2 separate regions of the Homo sapiens genome follow, and region 1 is linked to region 2. The links are contacts of gene promoters, found by promoter capture Hi-C in blood cells and fetal thymus (Javierre and others, 2016). All regions are on one chromosome and are shown on one strand. The core of a region is centred on a gene start or on the middle of the fragment in contact, and the rest is flanking DNA. Distances in the headings are between cores, read along the strand shown.

Region 1 (7,436 bases), core at 1,757-4,256, 200 kb after region 2:
GACTACAAGCGGGCACCACCATGTGCAGCTGTTCTTCATTTTTTGTAGAGATGGAGTCTTCCTATGTGGCCCAGGCTGGTCTCAAACCCCTGGCCTCAAGTGATCCTCCTGCCTTAGCCTCCCAAAGCTTAGGCTGCCAAGGGAGCAGTGCTTTGGAAGATGCAACAGCCTGCTTGCTCTGTTGTTCCCCTCCTGCCATGTGACAGATACTCCTTTCTAATACCTGTGGTCCCTACCTGTCCATGGACATGCTCACAGGTCTCCAGGGAGCAGAACTAAAATGCGTTCAGGAGCTCGGGCTGGCCCAGTCAAGTCCTTGGTTCAAGGCCAGGTTCTCTTAACACTCAGTGGGTGTGACCAGATTCTGTGGTGGTCACAAAGCTACGTGTCCACAGGGCCTCCACATTCTAGGGTCACCCTTTCCTTTGATACTCACATCTAATGGCCTAAGCCTCTATTCCACACAGTCTGCAAAGCCCAGCAGCTTACCAAGGATTTTGTGTAAATGGCTTAGAATTGTTTTTTAAAAAATTCAGCTGAGAGTCTTTACCTTTACACCAGAACAATGTAATTCTAGGCAGGGTGCAGTGGCTCACGCCTGTAATCCCAGCACTTTGGGAGGCCCAGGCAGGCAGATCACCTGAGGTCAGGAGTTCGAGACCAGCCTGGCCAATGTGGTGAAACCCCGTCTCTACTAAAAATACAAAAATTAGCCAGGCATTGTGGTGCATGCCTTTAATCCCAGTTACTCCAGTTACTCAGGAGGCTGAGGCAGGAGAATTGCTTGGACCTGGGAGGCGGAGGTTGCAGTGAGCCGAGATCACACCACTGCACTCCAGCCTGGGCAACAAGAGCAAAACTCCGTCTCAAAAAAACAAAAAATAATGTAATTCTGATACCAATGTGGGTCTAAAAATTTTTGTGCTGTTTGTTCCCCTAGGTCTGTTTTTCTCTCCTTTACCATTGTTTTGTTTTCTTCTTGCTTGGAGGTTAAATGCTGTCTCTATCCTTTTAGGGGTTTCCCTCTTCCCTGAGATTTCTCAAGATGCCCAGGGTGCCTTAAGTCTGCCTGTCCCTTCTTGTTCCTCATTCTTATTCCTATTAATTCTCCATCGTGCTTACTTCTTGCCTCCTGTTTGTTGTTCTTTCCCTCTTTTCTTCATACATTCACCATTAACGGTGCACCAACCTTTTACTTAACATCAGGTAGATAACATGGTGGGGGAGACAAGTTGCTGAGCTTCTTAGAGCCCCTTGGCCATGAGGAGTCCCTGCCCACATCCCTCCTCAGGTGCTAGCTGGGTAGGCTGTGTCAGATCCCCTCTATAAGCCTTCCCTCCCAGAGCCCCAACCCCACTTCACACCTCCCTGGTCCACCCTACTCACCCTCCTGCTGTCACTGTCCCCTCACCTTGCCCAGTTCTTCTCCTTGTATTTCTCATTATCTGAACTCATATTTAAGTTGTCTGTCTATCCCATTAAGCCTCACAGTGGTGTCTTGTTCACCACCATATCTCAAGAGCATGAAACCATGCCTGGCACACAAGCAGTGAAGACAAGCAGTGGATATTTGTTGAACACATGGGTGAATTCTGGCATTCTAAGTCTTCAGTGGGACCATCTACCTGTCAATCCCAGTGGAACTGGTGCAATGAAGTGGAAAAGGGGTCTCCTGGGATCCCACTCCCACCCCAGGTGCTGGGGTATGGACTGCCCACCTCTGGGTCCCAAAGACCCCCACAGCTGAAAAACTGGACTCAAGGGAGCAGATAGAGTAATGTACTAACATTTTTAATACAGTCTGATCAGATCAATTCACATCACAAGGTCAACCTGGGCTTGCTCACATGTGACACAACTGAGGTACACAATGTCCCTACCTGCCGGCTGTCCCACCTTCCTGGTTCCCAACAGCATTGAAACCCCCTACTTCCCTGACCAGACTGGCATTTTTTAAAATTTTGCATAAAACTATTTCTTCCATAGACTTCAAACAATCAACTAGCCAAGTTAATTATGGTACATCTAAACAAAGTTTAATACTAACCCTAATGTGTGACTGCGGTTTACAAAGAGCTCTGTATCACCTGGGATAGCTTTCAGTAGCAATTCACTACAACTGGTCCTAAAAAATAATAACAATAATAATAATAATTAGAGAATTAAAACCCAACAGCATGTTGAATGGTTAAAATCACGTAAGAACTGAAATTTGGGGTGGGGGTGTCCTCAACAGCTGAGCTTGTCCTAGCAGTGAAAATGCTCGCCTCCAAGCAGGGCTCAGAAAGGTCTGGAGCCCTCCAGGCAGAGGGCTGAGCTCAGGGGGCTCTTGGAGGACACTCACCCCATGGTCCATGGGATGCTTCTGGCTTCCTTAAAAACAGTTGGGCATCCGCATTGTATAAGTAGGTGGAGACCCTAGTGTGGTTCTTTTGAAGGATATGGGAAGGGAGGATGACGAACTAGAGAAGTGGGAGGGGACCAAAATCACTGAGGTCCCAGAATATCATAGATTTGGGTATAGGATTGGGGTCACTAAGAATTGAGCACCAGGAATTCCAGCTTCTTCCCATTAAAGAAACTGGGACTGGTTTTGCCTTGGAGGCCTATGTAGTGTTTTCTGCCCCTGTCCCATACCAAGTCTCATTGATATTTCTGCAGAATATCAGATGAAAATCTATTTCTAAAGACCATTGGGAGAATGGGTGGTGGAGAAGGAGTTGGAGTGGGGTTGGGGGGCAGTTAAAAATGAATAAAAATCTCTCAGCTACAGAACCCAAACATCACTTCCCTCCGCATTCACAGCATTTCCCAGCAGTCCCCAGATGGTTGTTTCCGTGGGGACACAGCAGCTGCCTCATTTCCCTTCAGGCCCCATGGGCTGCTGGTCAACCTCAGGATCTACTAAAGATGACGCAAATGCCGACTGAACAATCTGAAACCCAAAGGACTCGAGGAGAGACATGTTCTGCTGAGGAGAGAAAGGTGAGCCAAGGGCAGGGCCCAGGTCCCCCAGGGGGCCCCCGAGAGCCCGGACATGCACCTTCTGGATGTGTTTGTTCAAGTAGGACTTAGAGCGGAAGAAGCTCCCACATTCAGGGCATGGGTACTTCTTCTCCCCATCAGACTCCATTTTGTTTTTGGGGACTGCCATGTCGCAGGAGAAAGAGCCATTGGCACTCTGCTTCTCTGGCGTCTTCAGGTCGCTGGCATCTGAGAGGTCACCATAGGAGTCAGAGCTCTCAATCGGATCCTGATGTGAGCATTTCTGGCCTTCTACGAAAAAACAAAATATAGGAGAGCGATGAGGCCAGGCTCTGGAGATGCCCCCTCCTGGAGGGGTCATGAGGGGCCAGCTCACAGACCTGTGGAGGGCAGCCATTGGCCAGCCACTGCCCTGGCAGAACCCACGGAGGGTCAGCTGGTCAGTCTGGGAGCCTGGAGTGCCTACAGGGGTGAAACGGCAGGGCCCTAGGGCTGCCAGCCTCCCTTGCTGTGGACTCTTCATGCAGCTGCACATGTACTGCTCACCGTCATCTCAGCCTGCTTCAAGGAAGGGATACAGAGAGGGCAACTCTGCTACAGCTGCCCAGAACAACTCAAAGACCCCCAACTCCTAGGCGCTCTTTTGGGTGCCTCTGAGGGTAAAATTGGTATTCTGATGATGCCGAGCCAGTGTAATAGTAGCCTCGCCTCCTGCACCAGACTAGCTGCACCCTAGCAAGACAGGCAGAACCAGAGCCATTAGGTCCTCAACCTGGGTAGACCCCATCAATGGCTCAGACAGAAGCCAATCCTTTTCCTAATGCTGCAAACATAGCCCTGTCCTTACCGCCTTCCTTCTGCCAAAACCTTTTCAGGGCCAAGCAGCCCAAGCACAGAGATTGAAAGCAACTCTGTACTACTCAGTCGGCTGGGTGTCCCCACCCTAGGCCCCAGACAAGCTGGGCCAAGAGACAACCCTGGCTGCTCTGCCTTGCCCGGCCCACACTGGAGTCCTCCACCAATCAGCAGCTTCCTGCCTGGGTCCAGAGAGCCATGCCGGGAAGGGAGGTCTGTGATGGGAGCATGGAGCATGCCATCTCTGCTGTTTCTACCATCTGCCAAGCCCCTGGCCTCATCCCCAAGGCAACGACAACGTGACATACCACAAAACAACCTGAATCAACAAGTGAAGGTGGGCCTGGGGAGCTTTCTGCAAACCAACTCCCAAGTCAGAGGAGTCAGATAGCTCATTATTGCCATGCATCTCACAACCATAGCCAGAGGCTCTCCAGAAAGGGCCACTCACAGTAACCAACCACTCCTACTGTGAGAGAAGCCAGACATTGGCTCCCACCGGCCCACTGGGTCAAAAGAGGAGAAAGCATTCAGCCGCAGCTCCACACCATCCTAAAGGGCAGCAGGCAGTGACAGGCCCATAGTGACTCATCATGCAGGGCTCTTCTTCTGCCCAGGGCCCGGGGCATCCCTGCAGGGCTCCAGACAGTGGGGGCTGGCCAGGAGGAAAGGAGGAGGGCTGGGGAAGAGGAGGCGGAGGCTGGATCTCGGCAGTGCCCTAAAGCCTCACTCACTGCCCTGGAGTGAGATACCCACTGTGACTTTTGTCCTGGAGGCCACTGCCACTCAGATCTCTGAGTCTCCTCAAGGCAGCCAGAAAGCCGGCAGCCTTCCCGCCTCCCCACGCCCAGCCCAGCGCCCCCACAACACAGTCTGCGCAGAGAAGCAAAGTGCAGAGCAAGGGGTCGCTTGCCTTTGTTGCCATAGGTCCTGGCGCAGTGGAACGCTGCTCCCCCATTCAGGATGGGCTCCTGGTGCCTGGAGACCTGGGGAAGGGGAACACCGTGGTGGGTTTTAACATGGACCTTTAAGTAGGAGGCAGAGGAGAAACCTAAACAAGACAAAAGGAGATGAGATCCCGCGGCCAGCAAGAGATACCTCTCTCCTTCCCCCAACTCCTCTCCTCTGGCCGCTCTGGCTAGCATTCCCAGGTCAGCTGCACCTAGAAGGGGCCCCCTCCTGGCTCAAAAATGGCTGCAACCACATGAGCCATGTGACTCAGGATGGAGGGTGGCACTGTCCACAAATCGGCTTCTCTGCAGAGCCCACTCTGCAAGGCTGCGGTGAGGGGCTGAGGCTGGCTGCCTGGTGGGATGGCCTGAGATCCTGCTCCTGCTAGGGCCAGAGGCCAACTGCCTCTAGGGTTGCTTGGTGCCTCAGTAACAGGTGGTTTGAGTGGATGTCTCCTGCAGGAACCATGACTAGAAATGTGGTTAGACAAGAATTTGAGGCTCCAGGGAAGCCACAGGATTCTAGCCAGCAGGATGCCTGCTTAATCCTCGTAAAAGGAAACTGGACAACAAACGAGATGGAGGTAAAATGAAATCCCAAAGGAACGCCTCCAAGGATCCCGTCTTCTACCTGTCAGGAGATGTTCTATTTTTCTAACTTCCCCACCTTCAGCATAACAGGATTTAGTAACTGTTTAGACCTTTTGAAGAACAAAGACAAAAATAGGAAGTTGTGTCAGAGGAGTGCAGTCATCTCTTATTCATGGTAGTGTTTTGGTTCGATTTTGGAGCATCCACCAGGTTCGCGTACAGGAGAAGAAACACGGATGATCTCTGTCTTTATTTTGGGGGAGGACAATCCGGCCTTCTTGGGACTGTTCCAGCCCACCTCCCAGATGCTTCGGTCAGTCTGATCCACGAGATATCTCAGGCTGGGAAGAACACATCTTGGGCCAACTTCCACAGCAGCCATGCGTCCAAGGATACAGAATCAGGCAGGCCGATAAAAGGATTTTGACTTGGGTTTCACAGGAAGGAGGTATGCCATCAAACCCCACTGTAGTCAAGGATCAGAAGGTGCTTTTAGCAGGAACTGAAGCTTTTTAGTATAAGGCCCACTTAGGGTGCCAGCACCCTGACAGTGTCCCTTTAATCCACTTCAGATCTGGTTGACTCATCATCAGGTGTTTCCATTCACTTTCAAAATTACACAGTCACAGGATAACAGTGAGATCCACTGCTAAAGGGTAAAGGGTCAGAGGCTGAAGAGTACTGTGTAATGTCTGCATGAGATTTGTTTTAAAAAAGTCTGAATTGGCATGGTATTTTGAATGCTGCTGGAACTGTAATAAAGGTTCACCTTTAGGAAGTGCTGATGGCACACCAGGGCCCAGCACACCGCATGCACTATTCTATAGAATTTGCCCAACACCCTTTGTGCTACAGATTACTATTATACCCATTTTACAGATAAAGAAATAAGAGGCTTTGTGAGGTTAGGGAGGCTGAGGTGGGCAGATCACGAGGTCAGGAGATCGAGACCATCCTGGCTAACACAGTGAAACCCCGTCTCTACTAAAAATATAAAAAATTAGCTGGGCGTGGTAGCAGGCACCTGTAAGCTGAGATCATGCCACTGCGCTCCAGCCTGGGCAACAGAGCGAGACTCCGTCTCAAAAAAAAAAGAGGCTTGGTGAGGTTAAGTAACCTGGTCACACGTACAGCTACTGAGTGGCAGAGCCTGGACTCCAACCCCAGGATCATGTGCCACCAGAACTTGGCCCTTAGCTACTGGGCAGATGCTTTAACCCACTTATGCCTCATGTTCCATTATTGGGACGCTAACCTTTTAGGAATTATTTGTATCCTACTGCTCAAGATCATCATTAAAGTCTGATTTTTCACAAAAAAGTTTGTAACCTCCAGCATAAATGGGTTAATTGGTTCCTGTGTCTTAGCCCTGAGCCCTAGAAATATCCAGTGGACTTTTACAATAGGTTTCATTATTACCATTTACACTCATGTATTTTTCGACCATAATGGTATGTTAGAATGGAAGCTGCTGGAAAAACAGGGCTGGCCTGTGGGAACTTTATTTAACAAGTTCTCCTCTGACAGCAGCAGTTAGTGGTTCTGAAGGGAAATGTGGGATTGGGCCAATTTTCCTTCCTTTCCCAATACAGCTACTTCAAAGATCTGTCTAGACCAGGTGCTGGTGTCCTGCCCTGCCTGGTAGAGCAAGTTGTCCTGTGCTATGACCGCAGTGGTCTGCCTGAGGCTGATCATGGGTATAGATTGGTGTAAGAGGGTCCCATGTAGACATCCCTAAGAGGGAGGCTGTAGTCAGGAGTGAGGAGACAAGGCTAATGGGAAAGAGGCTGTTAGCCCTGCCCCTTGGGGTGGTACTGTAGAGTCCCCTAAAACAAAGCAGAACCAGGAGACATTGGCTCCCACCAATCAGTACAAGATATTAGAACTTTCTGATAATATGATGATACCACTTTAGAAGGTAATTTTTTCCTTTTTTTTTTTTTTTGAGACAGAGTCTCACTCTCGCTCAGGCTGGAGTGCAGTGGCACCATCTCGGCTCACTGCAAGCTCCGCCTCCAGGGTTCATGCCATTCTCCTGCCTCAGCCTCCCTGGTA
Region 2 (7,023 bases), core at 30-2,529:
TCCACTATCGCTGTCCAAAGACCTTTCTACCCCAACACTCTAATATGGCCTGAGTCTCTGCCCCTGCAAATTCCAGCAGAGATGCTGGCCTGAGAATACAGACTAGACCTACTGACAGTCAAGCAGAGGTAGGAAGTGCCTTCAGGAGAGGAAAGTGAGGCATCTGCCTTCATGTAGGAGACTGCACAGGCCCATGCAGATGCTCCATGTTGGTTAACAGGGAGCTCTGCACACACAACTCTGAACACTTTCTGCCTAAAGTGGGTGGGATCACTCCTCTCTAAGCCATGAGAAACAGATCCCACAGCCATCCCAGCCCAATCTGACCCTCATCACCCATTCACTCTTCTAATTCATTTATTCATTCAACAAACACTCCCGTAGGCCTGTTGGGGACCATGTCCTGGGCTGGGTCCTGGCTGTAGCAATTCTCAGGCCTGTTTGTAACTCTCTTGTCAGTCTGTTACCCCACTGCTGGGCCCTTCTCCACCCAAGTTCCCTTCCCCCAGATAGCTCGAAGGGCTTGTGCTCATCCTAGGTCACTAAGTTTTCTCACTGAAACACAGGAGACCTTCTCAGTTCACCAGGTGACCTTGAGCAAGTTCCCCTCCCAAACCACACCCAGTGAATACTGGAGAGAAGAAAGCTGACAGAAGCCGGGCTGGGTTAGGCCTGGCTGTGGGGACATCTGAGGGCAGCTAGGTGTCTGCAGAAGAGGAGGGGCTGGTGCTGAGGCCTGAGATGGGAAAAGACTGCAGTGGCTGGAGCCTGAGTGTCTGGTTCTGGGTTGGGAAGAATAGAGCCTGGGACTGGCAGTAGGAGTGGAGAGGGTGGCACCAAGACCTGAAAATGGGGCAAGGGTGGGGGCCGGGGCAAGCTCTGAGCTGGCAGGGAGCCAGGAAGGTCACAGGATCAGGGCAAGAACTCAGTTGTCTCTGAGGCCCTGGAGAGGGTGCAGACCTCTGAACCACCTGTCCTACCTTAAGGCAGGTGTGTTAATGCCCCTCCCTGGAGCAAAGGGCTGACCAGGCCTACGGCAGAAAGGTGAAGGTAGACAGACAGCCTCCTTCCTGCTGCCAGTTGGGACCTGGGCCAGGCAGATGGGTACACTCTCCCCTCCCCACTCCATGGCTGTTCCAGCCTCAGCAGCCAGTTTGAAGGATTCCCAGGGGGTAGCCACCTTGCTTCGGCCTCTTCCAGGCTGGGAAGTGGGAGCCTGTGCCTTTAAATTCTCAGCAGGTTGAAATGGCTGATGACATCACTGGTTCCCGGGAGCGGTAGAGCTGGAGCCGGAGCCAAGGGAGTCCAGGCTGCCGGGGGCTGCAGACATGGAGGGCCAGAGCAGCAGGGGCAGCAGGAGGCCAGGGACCCGGGCTGGCCTGGGTTCCCTGCCCATGCCCCAGGGTGTTGCCCAAACTGGGGCACCCTCCAAGGTAAGACCCCTGAGACCCAGTGCCCCCCGCTTTCCTGATCCCTGGTTCCACACACCCCCCCCACATACACTGCAGGCTCCCTGGTGCTCCTGACTGAGGGGCTGGTACTTTCCTCTGCTCAGCGAGCAGGGGCTAGGTGAAGAGAGCACCCTGGGGGCTGAGGGGCAGTGACAGGATGCCCGGAGACAGATGAAGTTAGCCATCTCCAGGAGCCCTTGGGAGAGTCCTGGACTGGGTATCAGAGGACCCAGCTGTGCTCCACCTTTGCTGTGTGACCTTGGCCAAGTTGCTTTTCCTCTCTGAGCCAATGCAAAATGAGGGGGCTTGTCGCTGAAGACTAAAACTGTGACATCTGGGATGGCTAAGTTGTTAGTACTGGAGGCGGTGTGATAGTTGGGGGGAAGCCGGCACACAGTGTGACACTTGGAGCCAAGGAGGGTGCCTAAAATGCCACCTCAAAGAACTGAGTTTGAGAAGGGAGGTGGAGATGGAGTTTTAGGTACTCTGAACTGAGAAGGATACGGGACAGAAACAGAAGTGCGTCTCCAGAGGCAGGGCCTCCCTGCGCCCTGTTACCCTACCTAGGGCCATCCTGGGGCAAGTATAGACATTCTTCTGCCCTCCTTGGTGAAGGACACTTTATCCTGTCTTCTGGAGACAGGGGACATCAGAGAGAATAGATGGGGAAGGAGGATAGGTCTCTACAGGACTCCGTGACTCCCCACCCCTCCCACCTGCCGGACATAAATGGGATACCTGCTTGCCTGTCCTTTCAGGTAGGGGAGAAAGTGGAGGATGTAAGAGGGCACAACCTGGGCACAGAGAGATGTGACACCAGGATCAACTTAGAATCCTGGACTTGCTCTGAATGCTAGATTCACACTTGGTGAGGATGGACTATTCAACGGGGCTAGATGGAATTCTAGCAAATGTTGGGCTCATAAATGCAGACAATGGGAGATGAAGATTCCCCAGAATATAATGTGGCCAGGAACCCTAGACCCCATCCCTTCATTTTACAGACAGAGAAACTGAGGCGCTGGGCAGAGAGGTACTTGCCTAAGGTCACACAGAGCTGGGCTTTGAATCTACACAGCCAGTCTCAGCTCCCAGCTCTTGCTCCTGAGTGGAGCTCTGGGAATGGGTAAGAGAACAGAGAGGGCTGTAACCAAGGGATTTGGATGTTTAGGGGGCGGTGGGGAACTGAGGGTTTCTGGGCATTATGAAGGAAGGGAGAGGTATTTAACAAGCTGCACCTGTAGGTCTGTATCTTGACAATAGAAAAAGAAAAGAAACAGGCTGTCCCCAGTGTGCCCAGACCTGGGATGTCAGGTCAGTAGCCGTGGCTGGGGGAGCTTCAGGGACTGCAGTGGGAGGGTTGCCCAGGGAAGCTGCCCCGAATGGGCAGGGTGTGGGTGCCAGCCAGGAAGGCAAGGCAAGTCCTCAGGTTTAGGTTCACACTCTGCCTCATTTGAGTCAGGGTCTGAGTTTCCCCATCTGTGAAAGAGGTTTCAGACTTAAAGGAGGGGTTAGGGTTTTGTGTCCTATCTCCTCCAAGACAGAAGTTGACCTGCAGCAGAATAGATTGAAGTGAGATAGTAGGAAGAACTTCCTTGGAAAGATGTGCCTTTCTTAGCTAGATGAACTCTGCCAGGGTCTATATGGAAGTTGGGGCCCAATGCCCTGGTTAGGGTCACTCTGAATCTTTGACTTGTCCTCCACAAGGTGGACTCAAGTTTTCAGCTCCCAGCAAAGAAGAACGCAGCCCTAGGACCCTCGGAACCAAGGTTGGCTCTGGCACCTGTAGGGCCACGGGCAGCTATGTCAGCTTCCTCGGAAGGACCGAGGCTGGCTCTGGCATCTCCCCGACCAATCCTGGCTCCACTGTGTACCCCTGAAGGGCAGAAAACAGCTACTGCCCACCGCAGCTCCAGCCTGGCCCCAACATCTGTGGGCCAGCTGGTGATGTCTGCCTCAGCTGGACCAAAGCCTCCCCCAGCGACCACAGGCTCAGTTCTGGCTCCGACGTCCCTGGGGCTGGTGATGCCTGCCTCAGCAGGGCCAAGATCTCCCCCAGTCACCCTGGGGCCCAATCTGGCCCCAACCTCCAGAGACCAGAAGCAGGAGCCACCTGCCTCCGTGGGACCCAAGCCAACACTGGCAGCCTCTGGCCTGAGCCTGGCCCTGGCTTCTGAGGAGCAGCCCCCAGAACTCCCCTCCACCCCTTCCCCGGTGCCCAGTCCAGTTCTGTCTCCAACTCAGGAACAGGCCCTGGCTCCAGCATCCACGGCATCAGGCGCAGCCTCTGTGGGACAGACATCAGCTAGAAAGAGGGATGCCCCAGCCCCTAGACCTCTCCCTGCTTCTGAGGGGCATCTCCAGCCTCCAGCTCAGACATCTGGTCCTACAGGCTCCCCACCCTGCATCCAAACCTCCCCAGACCCTCGGCTCTCCCCCTCCTTCCGAGCCCGGCCTGAGGCCCTCCACAGCAGCCCTGAGGATCCTGTTTTGCCACGGCCACCCCAGACCTTGCCCTTGGATGTGGGCCAGGGTCCTTCAGAGCCTGGCACTCACTCCCCTGGACTTCTGTCCCCCACCTTCCGGCCTGGGGCCCCCTCAGGCCAGACTGTGCCCCCACCTCTGCCCAAGCCACCCCGATCACCCAGCCGTTCCCCAAGCCACTCCCCGAATCGCTCTCCCTGTGTTCCCCCAGCCCCTGACATGGCCCTCCCAAGGCTTGGCACACAGAGTACAGGGCCTGGCAGGTGCCTGAGCCCCAACCTTCAGGCCCAAGAAGCCCCAGCCCCAGTCACCACCTCCTCTTCTACATCCACCCTGTCATCCTCCCCTTGGTCAGCTCAGCCTACCTGGAAGAGCGACCCCGGCTTCCGGTGAGGGGGCCCTCTCCCAAGAAAGGTGGCTGGGGCTTAGCTCTGAGGTTAGCCATTCTTCCAGGGTGGATGGTGTGCTCTACCTCAGCTTCTCTCTCTGAGGAAGAGTCTTTGGGGAGGGGGTTGCTGGGCCCACTCTGTGACGCTCAGAAGATAGCATCCCCTCCTAAGGAACTTGCCGCCTCTCAGTTGATCTCCCCAGGGAGAGTGTGGCAGAGGGACAGGATTCGGGGCCTCCTGTGGGTCCTTCTTAGGGCTTTGGCCCACACCTGCCTCCATTTAGTTCCCCAGGGAGTCCTGTGAAAGGAAGCTTGAGGGTGAGGGAGTGGTGCCAGGACTACACCCTCATATGCCCCTGCCCTCAGGATCACTGTGGTCACATGGAACGTGGGCACTGCCATGCCCCCAGACGATGTCACATCCCTCCTCCACCTGGGCGGTGGTGACGACAGCGACGGCGCAGACATGATCGCCATAGGGTGAGGTGGCAGGGCATGTGGACCCCCTCCTGAGCCCCTCGGGCCTTCCGGGCCCTCCACCCATGGCAGGGGCTTCCAGGGCACCTCTCCAATCCCATGGCCACCCTGCCCCCACCCCTCCAGGTTGCAGGAAGTGAACTCCATGCTCAACAAGCGACTCAAGGACGCCCTCTTCACGGACCAGTGGAGTGAGCTGTTCATGGATGCGCTAGGGCCCTTCAACTTCGTGCTGGTAACGCACCCCTCACCCCCTGGACAGCCAGAGACCCTGCTGAATTCCTGGCTCCAGCTGTACCCTGGCTCACTGTGGGGCCCGCTGGGCCTCTGTGGCTGGGTCCGTGACATGGGTGGGTGGAGGAGCAGACCTGAAGGTGGGCGCGAGGGCGGGGGAGTTGTGTTCTGTCCCCCAGCCACGTGGCCTCCCGCTGCAGGTGAGTTCGGTGAGGATGCAGGGTGTCATCCTGCTGCTGTTCGCCAAGTACTACCACCTGCCCTTCCTGCGAGACGTGCAGACCGACTGCACGCGCACTGGCCTGGGCGGCTACTGGGTGAGCCTGTGAGCAGGCCCAGAAGAGGATGGGACATGAAGGGGGCTTTAGATTAGTCCCCCCGCCCCATGCACAGCAAGGTCCCCTTCCCATCCTCCACCCTTTACCCTGCGGCCCAGCCCCCCCATGCACCACCCAATACCCCATCCTATTCCTCTATACCCCCGCCCTTTTCTCTCCCCACTGTGTCCCAGCGTTGTTCCTCATTTCTGTAGGACCCACCCACCTTCCACCCACATCTCCTCTCTAACCCCCGCTCCCAGTGCCTCACCTCCTGGCCTAAGCCCCGCCCATGAGCCATCCGACCCTGCCTCCCTAGGGTAACAAGGGTGGCGTGAGCGTGCGCCTGGCGGCCTTCGGGCACATGCTCTGCTTCCTGAACTGCCACTTGCCTGCGCATATGGACAAGGCGGAGCAGCGCAAAGACAACTTCCAGACCATCCTCAGCCTCCAGCAGTTCCAAGGGCCGGGCGCACAGGGCATCCTGGATCATGAGTATGGGCTGGGGTGGGGCCAAATAGAGCTTGGGTGGGGCTAGTGATGGGGGTTTTTGTACCACCTTGGGTGGGGCTTATGGAGAGAGGCAGGGCCTATGGGGTTTAGTGCCCACCCAAACTAGTTGTAGGAACACGAAAGCAGAGAGCAGTTGGATGGGGAGGGGCGGAGCTTGTAGGGTGGAGCTTTGCTGAGGGGCCCCGCCTTGCTGAAGGTCAGAACCTAATTTCCTGTAGACCGGTCCCTCTGCTTTTCCTCTGCCCTTTGGTGGGCTGGAGGCTCTGGCACCACTCACCCACTCACTACATCCCCTCGGGTTGGATGGGCTGGAAGGATCTGGGCTGAGCCCTTATCCTCCATGGACCTGTTGACACCCCCCACTGCCCCCCACATCTCTCCCATCCCCCACCCCAAACAGCCTCGTGTTCTGGTTCGGGGACCTGAACTTCCGCATTGAGAGCTATGACCTGCACTTTGTCAAGTTTGCCATCGACAGTGACCAGCTCCATCAGCTCTGGGAGAAGGACCAGGTGGGGTCCTTGTCCCCAGAAGCACACAGAGCATGTCCCAGGACACGCCTGTACCTTAGACTATGGTCCCTGTCCTCACCTGCCCCACCCCCTCCCTGGGCACAGCAGAGCCCAAGCTGTTGTCCAATCTGCTCTCCTGGACCCCCCACAGCTCAACATGGCCAAGAACACCTGGCCCATTCTGAAGGGCTTTCAGGAGGGGCCCCTCAACTTCGCTCCCACCTTCAAGTTTGATGTGGGTACCAACAAATACGATACCAGGTGAGCTCAGTCCGAGGAGGGACTGAGGGGAAGTGGGCTGAGGTCTTCTCGAACAGGGAGACTTTGGGAAGAGGGGCAGGAGGCAAGGTGGAGGGTTACATCTTGATCCCCAGCCCCTGAAACTTGGGGTACCCCTGCTCACTGCAGTGCCAAGAAACGGAAGCCAGCTTGGACAGACCGTATCCTATGGAAGGTCAAGGCTCCAGGTGGGGGTCCCAGCCCCTCAGGACGGAAGAGCCACCGACTCCAGGTGACGCAGCACAGCTACCGCAGCCACATGGAATACACAGTCAGCGACCACAAGCCTGTGGCTGCCCAGTTCCTCCTGCAGGTGAGTTCTGGCCTCATCCTCCCCGCATGAAATCCCCAGGCCCAACTCGGCATAC

Evidence for each region. Contacts are between HindIII fragments. The CHiCAGO score rates a contact against its expected background, and 5 or more counts as called.
Region 1: a contact is called between a fragment that was not itself captured here and the fragment with the promoter of INPP5J in region 2, in 1 of 17 cell types (neutrophils). The highest score is 5.8, in neutrophils.

Annotation. Positions count from the first base shown.
Region 1 is chr22:31,324,034-31,331,469 of GRCh38, forward strand. PATZ1 (POZ/BTB and AT hook containing zinc finger 1) reads right to left here. Exons shown (of 5, transcript NM_014323.3): 4 at 4,754-4,891; 5 at 1,771-3,276. The coding sequence ends at 2,858. Among named protein-coding and RNA genes, the nearest start is that of PIK3IP1-DT, 7.6 kb to the right of the region's middle. RefSeq lists an enhancer at 4,946-5,630. The HindIII fragment of the contact is 5,762 bases long and covers 126-5,887 here.
Region 2 is chr22:31,121,687-31,128,709 of GRCh38, forward strand. It overlaps INPP5J (inositol polyphosphate-5-phosphatase J), which reads left to right and starts at 1,280. Exons shown (of 13, transcript NM_001284285.2): 1 at 1,280-1,433; 2 at 3,159-4,324; 3 at 4,690-4,803; 4 at 4,927-5,035; 5 at 5,235-5,351; 6 at 5,671-5,846; 7 at 6,265-6,376; 8 at 6,528-6,637; 9 at 6,785-6,968. The coding sequence starts at 1,329. The HindIII fragment of the contact is 6,854 bases long and covers 1-4,632 here.